Linked DNA regions of Homo sapiens: regions 1, 2, 3 and 4 are each linked to region 5. The links are contacts of gene promoters, found by promoter capture Hi-C in blood cells and fetal thymus (Javierre and others, 2016). All regions are on one chromosome and are shown on one strand. Each heading gives the region's core, a stretch centred on a gene start or on the middle of the fragment in contact. The rest is flanking DNA. Distances are from core to core; before and after follow the strand shown. Region 1 has its middle 7.7 kb from the start of LINC01963. Region 2 overlaps XRCC5 (X-ray repair cross complementing 5). Region 3 overlaps XRCC5 (X-ray repair cross complementing 5). Region 4 overlaps XRCC5 (X-ray repair cross complementing 5). Region 5 holds the start of MARCHF4 (membrane associated ring-CH-type finger 4).

What was found. Contacts are between HindIII fragments. The CHiCAGO score rates a contact against its expected background, and 5 or more counts as called.
Region 1: a fragment that was not itself captured here is called in contact with the fragment with the promoter of MARCHF4 in region 5 in 4 of 17 cell types (activated CD4 T cells, endothelial precursors, megakaryocytes and 1 more); the score reaches 7.1 in activated CD4 T cells.
Region 2: a contact is called between a fragment that was not itself captured here and the fragment with the promoter of MARCHF4 in region 5, in 2 of 17 cell types (endothelial precursors and activated CD4 T cells). The highest score is 7.3, in endothelial precursors.
Region 3: a fragment that was not itself captured here is called in contact with the fragment with the promoter of MARCHF4 in region 5 in 2 of 17 cell types (endothelial precursors and activated CD4 T cells); the score reaches 5.9 in endothelial precursors.
Region 4: a fragment that was not itself captured here is called in contact with the fragment with the promoter of MARCHF4 in region 5 in 4 of 17 cell types (endothelial precursors, activated CD4 T cells, total CD8 T cells and 1 more); the score reaches 8.3 in endothelial precursors.

The regions. Positions count from the first base shown.
Region 1 is chr2:216,222,894-216,226,209 of GRCh38, reverse strand. No RefSeq gene overlaps it. Among named protein-coding and RNA genes, the nearest start is that of LINC01963, 7.7 kb to the right of the region's middle. RefSeq lists an enhancer at 2,889-3,098. The HindIII fragment of the contact is 7,342 bases long and covers 1-3,316 here.
Region 2 is chr2:216,140,259-216,143,881 of GRCh38, reverse strand. It overlaps XRCC5 (X-ray repair cross complementing 5), which reads right to left. Exons shown (of 21, transcript NM_021141.4): 13 at 2,563-2,696. Among named protein-coding and RNA genes, the nearest start is that of XRCC5, 33 kb to the right of the region's middle. RefSeq lists enhancers at 1,044-1,153, 1,324-1,443. The HindIII fragment of the contact is 1,298 bases long and covers 1,009-2,306 here.
Region 3 is chr2:216,159,186-216,162,707 of GRCh38, reverse strand. It overlaps XRCC5 (X-ray repair cross complementing 5), which reads right to left. Exons shown (of 21, transcript NM_021141.4): 15 at 2,547-2,640; 16 at 660-729. Among named protein-coding and RNA genes, the nearest start is that of XRCC5, 52 kb to the right of the region's middle. The HindIII fragment of the contact is 1,088 bases long and covers 1,451-2,538 here.
Region 4 is chr2:216,199,672-216,202,968 of GRCh38, reverse strand. All of the region lies in intron 19 of XRCC5 (X-ray repair cross complementing 5), which reads right to left. Among named protein-coding and RNA genes, the nearest start is that of LINC01963, 16 kb to the left of the region's middle. The HindIII fragment of the contact is 2,256 bases long and covers 422-2,677 here.
Region 5 is chr2:216,371,056-216,374,846 of GRCh38, reverse strand. MARCHF4 (membrane associated ring-CH-type finger 4) reads left to right here and starts at 2,364. Exons shown (of 4, transcript NM_020814.3): 1 at 2,364-3,791. The HindIII fragment of the contact is 3,541 bases long and covers 2,041-3,791 here.

The DNA of each region.
Region 1 (3,316 bases), core at 607-3,106, 150 kb after region 5:
CCAGCCGCCCCGTCCGGGAGGGAGGTGGGGGGGGTCAGCCCCCCGCCCGGCCAGCCGCCCCGTCCGGGAGGGAGGTGGGGGGATCAGCCCCCTTCCTGGCCAGCCGCCCCGTCCGGGAGGTGAGGGGCGCCTCTGCCCGGCCGCCCCTACTGGGAAGTGAGGACCCCTCTGCCCGGCCAGCCGCCCCGTCCGGGAGGGAGGTGGGGGGGTCAGCCCCCCTTCCGGCCGGCCGCCCCGTCCGGGAGGTGAGGGGCGCCTCTGCCCGGCCGCCCCTACTGGGAAGTGAGGACCCCTCTGCCCGGCCAGCCGCCCCGTCCGGGAGGGAGGTGGGGGGGACAGCCCCCCGCCCGGCCAGCCGCCCTATCCAGGAGGTGAGGGGCGCCTCTGCCCGGCCGCCCCTACTGGGAAGTGAGGAGCCCCTCTGCCCGGCCACGACCCCGTCTGGGAGGTGTGCCCAGCGGCTCATTGGTGATGGGCCATGATGACAATGGCGGTTTTGTGGAATAGAAAGGCGGGAAGGGTGGGGAAAGAATTGAGAAATCGGATGGTTACCGGGTCTGTGTGGATGGAAGTAGACATGGGAGACTTTTCATTTTGTTCTGTACTAGGAAAAATTCTTCTGCCTTGGGATCCTGTTGATCTGTGACCTTATCCCCAACCCTGTGCTCTCTGAAACATGTGCTGTGTCCACTCAGGGTTAAATGGATTAAGGGCGGTGCAAGATGTGCTTTGTTAAACAGATGCTTGAAGGCAGCATGCTCGTTAAGAGTCATCACCACTCCCTAATCTTTAAGTACCCAGGGACACAAACACTGTGGAAGGCCGCAGGGTCCTCTGCCTAGGAAAACCGGAGACCTTTGTTCACTTGTTTATCTGCTGACCTTCCCTCCACTATTGTCCTATGACCCTGCCAAATCCCCCTCTGCGAGAAACACCCAAGAATGATCAATAAAAATAAAAAATAAAAAAAAAAAAAAAAAAAAAAAAAAAAGAACACATGGCATGGGCTGGGCGCGGTGGCTCACACTTGTAATCCTAGCACTTTGGGAGGCCTAGGTGGGTGGATCACGAGGTCAGGAGTTCGAGACCATCCTGGCCAAGGCGGTGAAACCCCATCTCTACTAAAAATACAAAAAAACTAGCCGGGTGTGGTGGCGAGCACCTGTAATCCCAGCTACTCAGGAGGCTAGGGCAGAGAATTGCTTGAACCCAGGAGGCGGATGTTGCTGTGAGCCGAGACTGTGCCATTACACTCCAGCCTGGGGGACAGAGCGAGACTCCATCTCAAAAAAAAAAAAAAGAATACATGCCATGTGTTACCCTAACTTCATGAGTCAGGTGGGTGCCAGGGGTACCAGAGAGCCAGGCTATCTCTAGCACCATCTAAGAAACTGTGATATCAAGACCTCTTCTTCCAGCCTGAGCCACAATCTTTTTCCACACCTTCCCTCCTTTCTTAAGGACCAATGAAAGGTATAAAGTCAAGGTATTTCCAGAGATTTTCCCAAACTGCACATATCCTGGGCTCTGGCATCAGGAGTCTCTTCTTTTCCCAGAAGCCTGGACAACCTCCCACTGACAGAGCTGATAATAAATGAGTTCATTATCAGGCTGCTGGGGCCCATGACAGCCCATCTGCTGGCATGATTAATTAAAACTTTGACTGGCGATGGGGGTGCCATCTCAGGGTCAGAAAGCAATTAATTGGAGCATCATCCAGGCCATTATTTCTGTTGGATTCTAGAATGACCAATGCCAGAGAGCAAGGTCTATGTGAGTCAGTCTCAGTCTCATTGCCTTACTCTCCTTTTTTTGTTTGCTTGTTTGTTTTTAAGACAGAGCCTCACTCTGTTGCCCAGGCTGGAGTGCAGTGGAACGGTCACAGCTCACTGCAGTCTCGACCTCCTGGGCTCAATCAATCCTCCCATCTCAGCCTCCTGGGTAGTTGGGACTACAACTGTGCACCACCATTGTGCAGCTCATTTTCGTATTATTATTATTATCGTAGAGACAGGATTTCGCCATGTTGTCCAGGCTGGTCTCCAACTCCTGGGCTCAAGCAATCCGCCTACCTTGGCTTCCCAAAGTGCTGGGATTATAGGGATGCCATTTTTCACAGAAATAGAAAAACCATTTCTAAAATTAATATGGAACCGAAGAAGAGCCCAAATCACCACCATACCTGGCCTCCTTACTCTCCTTTATATTTCTTGCAGTCTCTTCCCCAGGCAAGCCCACCCTAATGAAGCAGAGACAGATTGGTGGGAATCGGATCCTCAAATCCTCTAAGTGGAGCAGGAGGATCATCCTCTTAGGGCTTTCTACTCCTCCCAGGAGTGGGGAGTATTGGGATTCAAAAGAGGGTTTCACTCTGTTTTCTTGACTCTTGTGCTCAAGCACAGCAAACTCATCATTTTACATCCTTGTATTTGTCAGGTTTCCCCAGAAATAGGATATATATATATATAAAATAGGAACTGGCTCACATGATTATGGAGGCTGAGAAGACCCATGATATGCTATCTGCAAGTTGGAGAACCAGGAAAGCCAGTGGTGTAATTATCTGAAAGCCTGAGAACCAGGAGTGCCAATGTCTGAGGGCAGAAGATGGATGCCTCAGCTCCAAGAGGGAGAACAAATTCACCCTTCCTCTGCCTTTTGTTCTGTCCAGGCTCTCAACAGATTGGATGATGGCCACCCACATGGGTGAGGGTAAATCTTCATTACTACTGATACAAATGCTCATCTCTTCCAGACACACCCTCACAGTTACTCTGAGAAGGTTTTATAGCTATCCGGACATCACTTAACCCAGTCAATAATTATGGATATATAATTAACCATCACAGTCTTAATATAGCGATGTTCCCATCACTCTCTGTGTTCTGCTAATGAGCTGCAAAGCTGCTAGGTAAGGCCTCAGGCCCAAGCAGAGATCTTCAGCCCATAGAACCAGAAGCCCTGCATTTGGGGAAAAGCTAGGGGATTTCCTGGCCATAAATAAGGTTGTGGTTTTGGTCCCCAACTGGCTATGATCATGGTTTGCTTATCTCTGTAGTGAGAACACAGAGGGGAAAGAAGGACTCAGACTCTGGGAATAAACCCTGCCACCTCTGGAAACACACAGGAGAGGCACCACACTTCTTTTTTGTGCAGCCCACAGCTCCTGGCACATCACAGTGAGTTCCAACGTGGATGTCTCACTGGAATGAAGTCACAGGAAATGATTAGGTACTTTACTGTGCCCTCACAACCCAGAAAAGCTGTCAGGTTTGCCTTTGGTCAAACAAATTCTGTGTCTGTTTCTATATCACCT
Region 2 (3,623 bases), core at 408-2,907, 230 kb after region 5:
AAAAAAAATTAGCCGGGCGTGGTGGCGGGCATCTGTAGTCCCAGCTACTCGGGAGGCTGAGGCAGGAGAATGGTGTGAACCAGGAGACAGAGCTCACAGTGAGCCAAGATCACGCCACTGCACTCCAGCCTGGGTGACAGAGTGAGACTCCGTCTCAAAATAAAAATAAAAAAAAAAAAAGCAGCTTATAGTATCTTTCGCACGTGGTTCATTGTTAGTACTCAATAAATAAGTTTTTTTTAAGTTTATGTATCCTAGTGAAGATACTTCTTTATATAGATAAGCCACATTAAAAACTCTCCCCCACAAAACAAACTAATAAAAATCAAAGCCCGTGCTTGCAGCAGCTTTGGAATATAAAAATGCCTGCATTTATGGCTTGTATCTGTTTGTTATTCCAATAAGCATTTATTAAAGATAAATACAACCTACTGTAGATAAGTGTGCAAAATAGTATTAATAGAAGTTTCTCTTTTTCTCCACAGTGAACCATTTTGGTAAGCTTTGAACTGGTCTGCTCCTACCTTTCCTACAAATGGCACAAGGCTTTAGGTCTTCAAGTACATTTGCCAAAAAAACACCAAAGGATTTTTATATCTGTAATTTATACTTCATTACACTTAGCATGCTAGAGTACAGATGGTCCCTGGTTTATGATGGTTCAATTTACAATTTTTCCACTTTACAACAGTGTGAAAGCGATACTCATTCAGTAGAACTCAGTAGGACACTTACAATGCTGGGCAGTGATATCAAGCTGCAGCTCCCAAGGGTAGACAACCTTTACAGTGCATGATATTGTCAGATGATTCTGCCCAACTGTAGGCTAATGTGAAGTGTTTTGAGCACATTTAAAGTAGGTGAGGCTAAGCTATGATGATTGGTAGGTTAGGTGTAGTAAATGCATTTTCAACTTATATTCTCAACTTAGATGGGTTTATAGGCGTGTATCCCCATCATAAACTGAGGGGCATGAGTATTCAGAGTCAAGTCTTCACATGTTAAGCTTCACATCTCTAATTTTAGAACAAAAGATTTTTTTCACTACTTAAAAGAATTACAAGCATCAAAAAAACAGGCAGTTTCTTTCAAGTAGAGGATCCCTCAAATCACAAGCCCCAATATGGACTTAAGTTAGTTACAGATGTTTCATGAAGTGAGTCATAAGGGAGAATCTGTGGTCTCTGCAGCACATGCCCTGTTACCCCCAACCTGCAGAAAAGGGCCCTCTACTCCTCTGTGAGCAACAGCTTGCCTTAAAAAGCTGCTTATATAATTTTTTTTTCAGTTTTGTGGGGGTCAGAGAAGCCTATGTCCTGCTGTCATCAACTGAATCCAGGACTGGAATATTCCTTTCTCCTTCAACCTTGGTCTAGCCCTCCCCTTCCTCAGCATAAGTCAGCTCTCTTGTCAACTTCCCCAATTTACCTTAATCCAATCTCTGCCTTCCAATTCCTTTGGACTCAGATTCAGAAGATTTTTTATATTTTCTGTATTTTAATTATTCTTTAATAATTTCACAATATAACCTTTTTATCTGACCCCTATGCTCCCTTTAATTATGAAATTTTTGAGAAATGTGACATTAGAACACTTCTTCTCTAACAATGTTATATTATTATAGAGTTCATATAAGCTCTCCTACTATTTTGATATAGAAAACAAAGAAAAGTGTTATTTACATACAATACAGGAGAAAAGCCTGAAAAAATATAAAAGAGGCATCTGGCTGGGGGCAATGGTATACACCTGGAGTCCCATCTACTCAGAATGCTTGAGCCTAGGAGTTAAAGACCAGCCTAGGAACCTTTTTTTTTCTTTTTTTTTAAAGACTCGGTCTCATTCTGCCGCCCAGGCTGGAGTACAGGGTCGTGATCTCGGCTAACTCCACTCTCCATCTCCCAGGTTCAAGCAATTCTCCCACTTCAGCCTCCTGAGAAGCTCGGATTACAGGCACGTGCTACCATGCCCGGCTAATTTTTTTATTTTTTGGTAGAGACAGGGTTTCACCATGTTAGCCAGGCTGGTCTTGAACTCCTGACCTCAAGTGATGCACCTGCCTCAGCCTCCCAAAGTGCTGGGATTACAGGCATGAACCACCGCACGTGGCCAAGACTTGTCTTCACAAAAATTTTTACAAATGAGCCAGGCATGGTGGCATGTGCCTGCAATCCCAGCTGTTCAGGAGACTGAGGCGGGAAGAGTGCTTGAGCACAGGAGTTTGAGGCTATAGTGAGCTATGATCACAACACTGCACTCCAGCATAGGCAACTGGCCTTCCTGTATTTTTTTTGTTAAAGTAAGCTTCTTCCAGGAAAAAAAAAAAAAAAAAAAAAAAAAAGAAAAGAAAGAAAGCATTCCAACTTTATTTTTCTTTTTAAGAGCTCAGAATATTTTTACCTTCTGAAGTAGGAGAGGAAGATGTTATTCTTCCATTAAATAGAGCAAATGGGGCCTTCAGAGAAAAAAGACATTTATTTAGGACTGGCCAATTACCGCAACTTTGCACTTAGCTCTCTTTCATTTAAAAGAAATATGACTTGTTCATCCTTCTTCTCTTACCTGAAATAATCTCTGAAATCGAGGATTTGGGATTTTGGTGGTTGGAAACAAGTCTTCAAGGGTGTCTGTCTTCTCATCTTTCTTTGCCAAGCTCATGGAGTCAATCAAAGCATCAACAGCATTCAACTGTGCCTCTTAAACAGAGAAGCCGAAAGAAAAATGATTATTTCCATTATTCTCCACTAAAACAAATGCTTTCTACGTAGAGATATCCACGGCAATATTGGCAGGTTATACAGTCCTGGCCCTGCCAAAGTATTCTCTAGCTATGCACGTATTTAACCCAAGTCTTGGTTTTCTTATCCATGAAAAGATCGATTTAGAGTGACTGACTGATTAGGTTCCAGTTCTACCATTCAGTGAGCCTCTGACAATGGAGTATCAGATCAAAAGCAAGAAAGTTTGTTTCAGAGGAATACAGCCATATAAAAACCAATCCCTATAAGGAGACTGGAACAAAATATTTAGTATCCATTGAGCTAATATTTTAAAAACTAGTAATTAGCTAAAGAAGAAAAACATTAAAAAGAAAAAACCTCTCTGGTAATGAAGCATAAGCATTTTAATGACTTTAATATAACTTTTATCAGAGTACAGCACCTTAACAGGAAGACACCATTGGATCAGGGTGAGCTGATTCCTTCACAATCTACTGAGGCTGAATAAGCTCTCTCCTCTCTTAATGCCTCCATGACACTACTCACACCTGCGTACATGTCTTGCCCTACTCCATTCAAACTCTCAAGTTCCATGAGAGCAGAAATACGACATCCTCTTTCCTTAGGTCTCTCCTAATACTAATAAAAAACAAGTGCTCCTCAATAAAAATCTACTCAGTCAATAAAAATGGTACAGCCCAAAGCAATATGGACGAAAGGCAATTCTCCCAAAAATACTTCTGCCTAAACTACTGTGTGTAACTTTCATTTTACTGATTCATACAGCAGTTCAGCTGTTGAACCTGAGGCACTATTTCTGGAACATTCACAGTCACCAGGCAAAAGGTGGAAAAGAGTAAGTAGTTCCTAAAAAGTACATTATACTTCTATTCTGCACCTTTT
Region 3 (3,522 bases), core at 745-3,244, 210 kb after region 5:
GAAAATAGGAAGATGTGGCCGGGCACGATGGCTCACACCTGTTATCCCAGCACTTTGGGAGGCTGAGGCTGGCAGATCACCTGAGGTCAGGAGTTCAAGACCAGCCTGACCAACATGGAGAAACCCCGTCTAAACAAAATTAGCTGGGCATGGTGGTGCACGCCTGTAATCCCAGCTACTCGGGAGGCTGAGGTAGGAGAATCGCTTCAACTCGGGAGGCAGAGGTTGTGGTGTGCTGAAATCATGCCATTGCACTCCAGCCTGGGCAACAAGAGAGAAACTCCATCTCAAAAAAAAAAAGAAAAAAAAGGAAGAAAATAAAATAGGAAGATGTGACATAAAAGTGTTTTATTTATAGCTCACGACAAAATCCTAAAAAACTTCAATGAAGTGGAGCTATAAGCGCCAAGGTGTTGGCCCAAAGTTTTTCTGTAGGGAGACCTACAAATTAGTTCCTTTTGAGAAAATCTGTGCTGAGTTCACTTTCATGTGCTCATAATGTTGCCTCAGTGAGCTCCCTAACAAGGGAAAACCACAAAGATCCGCCAGTAAAGAAAAATGCTAAAGTGTTACAACAAAAGGCTACAGTTCTTAATCTAGACTTTAAATTAGTTAGCTTAACTAAACAGCTTCTCCTAAATGCAAAGTCAACCACTCACCTTCCTCAAAGCTGGCCTTCTTCTGTTTCACTAGAACACGGAAGTTTTCAGCAGGATTCACACTTCCAACCTAAAATATACCAACAGATGATAAACCTACAGGTTATTTCTCTTTTTAGCAGCACCCCAGGCAATACAAGATGGCTTAATGTAATAAGTGTGCTCTTATAAAATAAAACCAAAGACAAAGAGAAGGGCTTTTCTATTCATTTTCATTTCTAGGGCTCTGTGAAAGGCCGGCAGATTTCAGTGGTCCAAGAGCTGCCCTCTGTGCTTTCACTCACCTTGCTTTATGAAAGCTGATTTCTTTCCAGAAGGGTCAAAAAAGTATTACAACTCAAGCCACCAGCCAGCCCAGCTGGAAGGCTTTGTGTAGCACAGACTGCCTGTATATCCTGTCACCCAACCAATTAGAAAGCCGAGGATTCTGCAGTGTGGGGTCGGTTTCGAATAGATTTGCCCCACTAAGATAACATGAGAAATACAGCTTAATGCCTGATTCACCGAAGTGCCCATTAGTGGGACTGCTGCTGACCCTTTGGCACTGAAGTTTTGGTAGAATATACAAAGCATACCCAGGTTGAACATGTCCTCAGAAAGTAAAAGCAGATTATGTACAAAGATGTACTGCAGTGCTGGGTGAGGAAGTTTGAAAGACGAAACTGCCATATTATATGGAACTTTCTGATTATACCTATGTTTTTAATCTGCTGGCCCCAACCCTCACAGGGCCTAAGAACCACTCAGCTCATAAGAAAGAAAACAATGGGGTTCCAAAATATACTAAAGCTTCCAGTTTGCTTGGATATAGGAAGCAGAAAAGCTCTCAGAACAAGATCATGACTTTTTCCTTTACTATTATATATAAAACATCTAAATGAAATCTAAATCATTTTTCACACATTCAATTTTTCTGAGTTTCTGTTTGAGGTGAGAATAAAGGCATGCCCTTTATTCCCTGACTATCCTTCCTAGTACATTGTGTTAAAAAGTTATCGGCCAATTTTTAAGATTTGTTGATTCACACTAATGCTGCTTAGAACAAGGCACTATTTGGCTGGGTGCAGTGACTCATGACTATAATCCCAGTGCTTCGGGAGGCTGAAGCGGGAGGATTGCTTGAGCCCAGGAGTAACATACTGAGACCCCACCTCTATGAAAAATAGCCGGGTATGGTGGCATGTACCCTTAGTCCTAGCTACACAGGAGGCTGAGGCAGGAGGACCACTTGAGCTCAGGATTTCAAGGCTGCAGTGAGCTAAAATCACACTACTGTACTCCGGCGTGGGTGACAGTGACAACCTATCTCTAAAATTAAATAAAATATTCTTCCTCCTGGCTGACCAAGATATAAAAATTAATTAATTAATTAATTAATTAATTAAGGTAGTATTTTCAAGTTCCAAAAAATTTCTCATTCAATAAAAATCTCATGTATCAAAGGATACATTCTTGGGGAAATCCTAAACTTGTGAATCCTGTTCTAAAGTTGCATGTTAGAAAATAGGAAAGTTATACTAACTTAAATTGTGTGTACTTGAAGATTAAGGCTCGTATCACTAACCCCCACTTATCCTATCATTTTGACTAGTTGAAAAGCTGCAAAATAATGCCAACAGCAAAATCTCAACACTGAGATGTTCCACGTTCTATAAAGAGCTCTATATACCTTATATCATATAGATAATTCTGTAGGCAATTCATGATAATAATTACTTAAAGAAGTATGGAATGGGTCTTTTTGGCTTCTATAGAGCAAGGACCAGAGAAAGTGATCATGATCTTAACTTGAAAGTGGTAAGAACGGACTAACAAAAATTGATGCACTCTCCCTCAAGCCCCAACCTTCCTGCAAAGGGGGAAGCGCACTTGAAAAGCTTAGCTTACAGAGGTGACACTGCCTTCAGCCAGACTGGAGACGCTGAAGTGGGCTCCCCCTTGCTCAGTCTTTAATTTTTTAGCTGTAGGTCCATCTTCATGGCTAGAAAAGAAAAAAAAAATTTCTCTTAGAACAAACAATACAAAACCAGATTGCTATTGTGAAACTTATTTTCCAAGCACCAAAAAAAAAAAAGAAAAAAGAAGAAGAAGAAAAGAAAAATAATGAAGAAGAAAAAGAAAAGAAAAACAATAGCTACATGTAGTCCTTCTACAAACAAGCTGCCTCCCTTTCCTAGCCACCGGGCTCCTAAGGGCCTAACTTGAGGCAGCCCTGGCTTTGTTTCACAGCAGTATGAGAATCAGAATTAAGCAATCACATCATAAGGTCCTTGGAAAAGATGAAACTGCAAGCACAGATAATGGAAATTTAACATTTAAGTAAGAAATCCATTTACTCTTCAGATATTATTTTCTAGTTCCTGTCTCAGAATTGACAGCTATTAGCTTTCCATGTACACAGAAGACCTTTGTGTCTAACAACCCGTTTTCTCTATCATGTATGTTAGAGCTTTATAAGCCTCTGTTTACAACTGTCAAAACTTACTAGACAATCCTTAATTAACTATGCAAGAGCTTTCCCTCTTAAAGAAGTCGTAAACTATAAAAAAAAAACTTCCCCGAAAACTTTTTAATTTGTTCTTTTATAAACCTAATTCTGTTTTGTGCAATATGCTAACAGTCCAGTAGCATCTGTGTGCTAAGGAAAAGTATATCAAACATCTTGCCTCAAGCAACATGCTGGCTTTAACAGCCTGTCTTAAAGTCAAGAGGAGGTCAAGTTAATTGCAAAAGAGAAGAAAATCAAATCCAAAGACTCTGCCTGTAATCTCCCTTAAGCTGCTGAACATAAAGAAATTAAGATTTTTTTCTCCCAGAGAGAAATGCAATCTAGGGCAAAAGCAGCCATCAGAAATGGCTAAAT
Region 4 (3,297 bases), core at 300-2,799, 170 kb after region 5:
ACCAAAGTCAACCATGAAATATGAGGCTGCATGTGGCAAGTTTCAGGAAGCAAGAAAGCTCTGCCTGTTCTTCTAGTCCTCATATACAAAAACACACACAGGTAACAAAGTGATAACAGTGGAGGCTGTGTCTGCCTTAAGGTGCAGTGCCTTTGTCAGCACCATGGACATAATTGTTTGTTGACTCAACCACTCTCTTGGACTTTTTTTCCCTCAGTTAAGACCACCTCACTATTCATTAACTTCTTTTATGACTGAGCGAATAAGGAATTTATCTTCTTTTAAGGACATTTATGGATCTTTCCATAGCTCTTTGTTGACCCTAAACTGGGCCATGTGCAAGACTGAGAATCAATGGTATAAGAGAGAGGAAATCCCAGCAATGGAGGCAGACAGTCTGTAACAGAATTGTGATGAAGCTTCTGTTTCATTCATTCTGTTTATTCTGGGTGATTATGAATAAAGATATCTGACAGCCAAATACAGATAAATGAATAAAAAATCTATACATTTACTAGCATATGATTTATCTGTAAAGGTTAAATAAACTACTCTATCCTAGATTCTCAAATGGGTTTTTATTTGGGGTTTTCCGGGTTATTATCATACTTTTTATGTTGTACCTCTCCTCTCCTACTCATTGTCATTAACCCCTGCATGATTTTCGTGATATCAGGACTATATGGCTACAGGATAAGACTTATCCAGTTGGGGCAAGAGAATAAACAGTAGAGCTGCATCCTGCCATAAATCTCTGTAGGGCCACAAATGACTGGTATCTTCCAAACATCTGAAAAACTCCATAGGCTTAATGGTTCTGTAGTCCACTACATCTTGTATGACCCCTTAGATAAGGACTTATTGTTGGCACAGTATGACCATGGTATATATACTTAAGCACAAATGGCACATCTCTGAGACTAGGCCAAATTCCTAGGAAGAAATGAGCAGCAACAAAAATCCTACATTTTCATTAAGTGCTAAGTATCGTCTGCAACTGATTTTCCTGACAGATCTGCTTCACATTTCTGTGTAAGCAAATTATGTTTAAAAGCTGGGCTGCCATCCATTATCCTTCCCAATGCCCCAGGCAAGGCTGATCTCTTCCACATATCACTCCTCATCATTAATGTTTGTAACTGCAAGTAATTCTAGCCCATGCAGTGACAGGGAAGCAAGATAGAGCAGAGAACTCAATGACTGGCCTGCTTTCTCAATAAAAGCAAGAGATTCTCCGAATCTCTTCTGCAGAAAGGGGTAGGAGTCAATTCTCATCTTTTCTCATGTGTTCTTTCCCTCTGCAATATGCTGAGAAAGTAGAGAACAGATAGAAAGGGCATGTGTGTGAGTGACATATTCCTTCTTCCTCAAACCACCATCACTTACCTGGGGTTACCATAAAAGTGCCTCCTTACCTGGAGAACTTTATGAAATGGATAACCTACTACTTTTCAAGTACACTGAAATATAATCCTGGCCACAAGCAGAGTAATGAAATCAATAACCTCTATATAGAAACTGCCAGTCCTATACCACCATAAGACTAAAAGACTATCATCTTGTGCTCAGACCCTTACTGACCCCCAAAGTAAAAACACATGACTTCCACTGGGTTGTTTCCAACACCATCAGGTGATTCCAAAGGATTACTGACAATCTAGATGTGTAAAAAAGCATCAAAAAGAATAAAAGTCAGTTTGCATGTACTTTGCCTAAAATGACATATATTTGGGTTTCATTAATGCCACTTGTAGCTTAATGGATGCTATAAACACTAACATGGTGCAAGAGGGAAATCCTGCAGCCTAGTGTGGAGAACACAACTATAACCCTGTCAGTTTCTCAGGAACCTTACGCAAGCCACCTGACCTTTTCATAACTAATTTCGCTCAAAAACAAAATGTGAATACTACTACTTACCATACCTATCTTAGGGGTTGTTGAGTCTCAGATAAACTAAAGTATGAAAAAATTCATTATGGTATTGTAAGTTTCATGTTCTAATTCCTAGGAATACACTTAACATATGTCCACCAAGTGGTATGTACAAGAATATCCACAGCATCTTTATTCATAACTGCCAAAGGACAAACAAGCAAATGTCCATCATTAGGAGAATGGATGAATAAATTGTGGTAAAATCATAAAAGGGATTACTACATAGCTATAATCACATAATTGATGAAAAAAAGGCATGATTCCAATTATATGAAGGTCAAAAACAGGCCAGATGACTCTCAAGTGACAGAAGTCAGAATAGTGGTTACCTCAAGGGATGGGGGCTTCTGACTAGGAAGGTACCAGGGAGGCTTATGTGGTGATGGAAATGTTCTATTATTTTGATCTGGGTGGTGAGCACCCAGGTACATGAATGTGTAAGAATTCATCAAGTTGCACAGTTAAGATCTGTGCATTTACTGTACACATGTTCTACCTCAATAAAAAATTTAATATCATATCTTAAATGTATCAAGCCTTAAATAAATATTGGGTAACACTGTGATATTTTCATTATTACTTTTCTTGTACTAGCAAACTACACCAGAGAATTAAGGCAGAAAATGAAAGCAGAAAAAAGCAAAGAAAAATGTCACAGGTTCCAACAGGGGCCAGCAGTTTGACAAAACTGCTCTCAAGAAATGATTCTTAACCTTTGTCTTCAATCCTTCACTAAGCTTTGGAGAATTCCTGTGCACTCTCACACACAGAACCAGATGTACTCTTGAAAAAGGGAGCATGAGCATCCTTTCTCTAGGTAGATGTGGTTGGCGGCATTATAAGGTGAAGGCGTGAAGAGCTGGTGCCATGGTGTGGTGATAAGGCGACTACAGCGGGCATCTGGGGGTCTGGATTCCAGTCAATTCTGCTGGCCACTAGCTTGCTGTGAGGCACAGAAAACTTTACCTCTCTAGACAGGGGTGTTGGTAAAATGGCCAACACCAATTGGTAAAATGGCCAATTGCTATCTATGAATGTCTGTGATACTAAGGTGGAAAATCCATAAATGTCAACAACAATAAAGAAGGATAAATTAGGCAGTTACAAGAAAAATAAGTGCTAAAATAATGATTTTTTTTTCACAGAGCTTACATCAAATGATTATTTAGATATAGCTCAGCCTCTTGGAATCTGGTAAAAAAAAAAAAAAAAAAAAAAAAGATCCCAATGCCATGGGGATAAATCCTCTTTCTTCACTGCTTTCTCAATACTAAAGGAGAATGAAGGACTAGGGCAGTGCTAGAACTAGATTCCTGGCCGGTGACTTACTGTGAGCTCTCAGACACATCACTTTACCTC
Region 5 (3,791 bases), core at 1,115-3,614:
AGGGTTGGGAAAGGCAGTCTTGTTATGGACATCATCCCTTTCTTTCTTTCTTTCTTTCTTTCTTTCTTTCTTTCTTTCTTTCTTTCTCTTTCTTTTCCTCTTTCTTTTTTTTTTTTTTTTTTTTGACAGAGTTTCCCTCTTGTTGCCCAGGCTGGAGTGCAATGGTGCAATGTTGGCTCACGGCAACCTCCACCTCCCAGGTTCAAGCGATTCTTCTACCTCAGCCTCCCGAGTAGCTGGGATTACAGGCATGTGCCACCACACCTGGCTAATTTTGTATTTTTAGTAGAGACGGGGTTTCTCCATGTTAGTCAGGGTGGTCTTCAACTCCCAACCTCAGATGATCCACCCGCCTCAGCCTCCCAAAGTGTTGGGATTACAGGCATGAGCCACCATGCCTGGCCGGACATCATCCATTTCTATGACTCTGGATATAGGTCTCATATGGCATTTCTATCTCCTGCCCTAATTTACTTGCACAACACACTTGGAGCTAGAATTTAATGAGCACAAAACCCTAAAACTCAATTTTAGGTAAAGCAGATATTCAGTCATATGTGGGAGCACTCACATGTATGTGTCCAGGCTGAAGGGGAGAAATATGGTAGCTTCACTGAAATAAAAAAGCCACTTATTTATTCAGAGTCCATTTTCTTGAACACCTACTTAACTTCAGGTGCTGCATTATGTGCTGGTGATACAAATATAGATACTGATCCCAGCCTTAAAGAAGCTCTGAGTCAGACAAAGGGAGATGAATGTATGGTGAGATAATTATTATATAGACTATGATTTCTGCAATACCAGAAACAGATACAGAGTGATGTGGAACACAAAATATTTTCTTGAAGAACAAATAGAATTTTTGAAATAAAGAGGTTTTTTGTTGCTGCACAGTATTTGTGCTGATATTAATCAATAAATATTATTTTGTAGTTATTAAAAATATTAGTATCATCTTTAAATGAGCACCTTGGGCTGGGTCTCAGCATCCATGGTGAGTCCTGGGGCATGATTCAGACAAGTAGCCATGCTGGGTTAACCAAGACTGAGATGTAGGTCCTTTCTCCTTAGAGCTTGTAGGAATGAATCATTTCATAGAGATGGCAGCAAAGGGGTAGTTTTCTTATGACTCATTGGACTGAACTTCGTTCCAATGATATTTTGCTGCAGAAATTTTGCATGCTACTCTGTCTATGGCTCCAATATTTGTAAAGGCATTACCATGGCTGTTTGGATGAATCACTGGCATATCTTCTCTATGGCCCTAGAGGGGTGTGTGTGTGTGTGTGTGTGTGTGTGTGAGAGAGAGAGAGAGAGAGAGAGAGCGGGGTGGGGGAGAGAGGTTTATAAGGAAAGGCAAAAAAAGCAATCCTAAGTTTTCAGTGACCAAAGTCTACAGCTGCAAACACTGAGGTTTTATATAGACCACTTTAAGTTTCCTTCTTTTTCTTGCTCTTCACATTTAGGGGCACTTTGCTGCTCAAGAAACTCCTTGAGAAAAATAGGGTAGGGTGACATGAGTCAGTAGCAGAAATAGGAGAGGAAATTAAAATCCATTTCAAATTACCTCTTGTCAGCGGCTCAGTGAAAGGCTTGAATAGGGAGGAGGCTGGGGATGTTGGTGAAGACGAAGCTGAAATATTGCTCTGGATTCTTATGACTCACAATTGAAAGAGCACTGTGACTTATAGTAATGATGACTGTGGTGATGGTGGCCACAAGCCATTCAACAAATATGCATTGAACATTTACTAGATGCCATCTCTGACTTAGGCACACGGGATCAAATGAATTAAAAAAATTATCTCTGTCAATTGGAGCTTAAATTCTAGGCGAAGAAGCTGACAAAAAAATGGTACTAGCAACCTCCTCCCTGTTTGAAAATTTGAAGCATTTCCTTCTCATGTCTCAAGCCTCAATGAAACATTTCCTTCTCATGTCTCATGTCTCAAGCATTTCCTTAGTCATGAGGAATTTAATCTCCATCAAGTCCCAGCTTCATTGTGGAAGTCACAAAACTTTATCTCCTCGAAAGCTTGCAGACTGAGATCTACTTTAAATGTTTATGTGAACAGAGAAACGGTCTCTGGTTGACAGGTGTCTGTGTCTTGTATGTGCAATGAGAGGAGCTGTGATAGTGGACAGTGGGCAGAGAGTCTACAACCAGACCTTCCACACCGACACGTTCCTGCTGAGGTGAAATGCAAGAGTTAGTGCCTGAATCGCTCCCCTCCCTCCCCGTGGCCTTTCTCCTTCTTTCTTTTACTCTTCACTTCGCTCCCTCCTCCTTCCCTTCCTAAATCCCTCCCTCTCCTGGTTACCTCCCTTTCCCTTGGTCCCTCCCCATCCCCTTCCCTCGCACAGTTCTCTCCTCCTCTTGCTCCCTCTCCCTCCAGCTTCTTTTCCTCTCATCCCCTTTCCCTCCTCCATCCCTCCGCGGCGTCTGCGTCAGGCCCCCACGAGCGTGACGCGCGGGGTCTGGGTGGGAGCTGTCCACTCGCCCGGGGTGCTGAATGCAGCAGCGGCGGCCGCGGCGCCGGCGGCGGAGATAGCCGAGAGCCTCCCTCGCTGCAAGAACCTTGTTTCCAGTTCTCGGACGGTCAGCTCGCCGCCCCGCCACCTCCCTTCCAGCACCACCCCTTTGGGAATCGAGCCAGTGGGGGCAGCGGCGGGTGCTGAGCAACGGCGGAAGACGAGACAACACCTGGCAGCAGCCTGGAATCTGATTTGCTTCCTCTCGGCTTTTATAAGAGATATATTTATATACGGTTTTGGGGAGTCGCGAGGACCAAGCTGGAGCCAAGTGCCGGCTGCCTCCCACCTCGGCCACACTGCTTCGCTCCCCCCTCCCCACCTTCAGCTGGCACCGCAAACAAGCCTTACCTCGTTGCATCTGCGAGGAGAGGTAGCAACAGCGAGCCTAGCCAGCCAGAGGCGGTGGAGAGGAGGAAGGGGCGGGGTGGGGGGGCAGAGAGCGGGCCGAGGCCGCCCTTGGTGGGGGTAGCGGGGGCAGAGCTGCCGAGCAGACCCGGCAGCCGCCCTCCTCCGCCCCCACCCTCCAGAAGCACTCTTGCCTGAGAACCGAATTATTCCACTAGTATTATTTCATTTTTTATTACTCCCCCTCCTCACTCCCCAGCCGCCCCCACCCCCACGCCGGCCTCGCCTCTGGTTGCATGGCAGCGCTGCCCGGGCGCGGGGGCTCAGGGCTGGCCCCCAGGGAAGGGGGAGGAGGAGGAGGATCATGAAGGCCGGAGTCGCGACCGCGCCGGACGGCGGGCAGCAGCCAGAGGACGAGCCGGAGCAGCCCCCGCCCCGGAGACACCCGGACGCCGAGCAGCAGTCGCCTCCGCCGCCGCAGCAGCAGCTGCGGGCGCGGGCCGACCCGGAGCCGGAGGAGGAGGGCGACCGCGACCCAGAGGAGGAAGAGGAGGAGAAGGCGAGGCCACTCGCCCGCCCGGACCTGCCCTTCTCTCGGCTCTTGCCCCTCGACCGAAGGGACCTTTGATGGAACCGAGGGGAGGGCGCCACGGATTTGCCGACTGCAGCAGGGGTGGGCTGGGGGCTGAGATAATGTAACCACTCCTTTCTCCTGTTCTCTCCCACACGCCCCTCTCCTCTACCCCTATTCTCTGCTCCACTGCCCTCTCACCCCGGTACACACACCCTTCCTCTAGCCAGGATCTTCATGCTCAGGAAGGAGGCGCCTCTGCAAGGGTTAAACGATCTTTTCTTTTTCTCCCATCCTTTTTCCTTCCCAAACCTCTATTTTACCTCCCTTCTCCTAA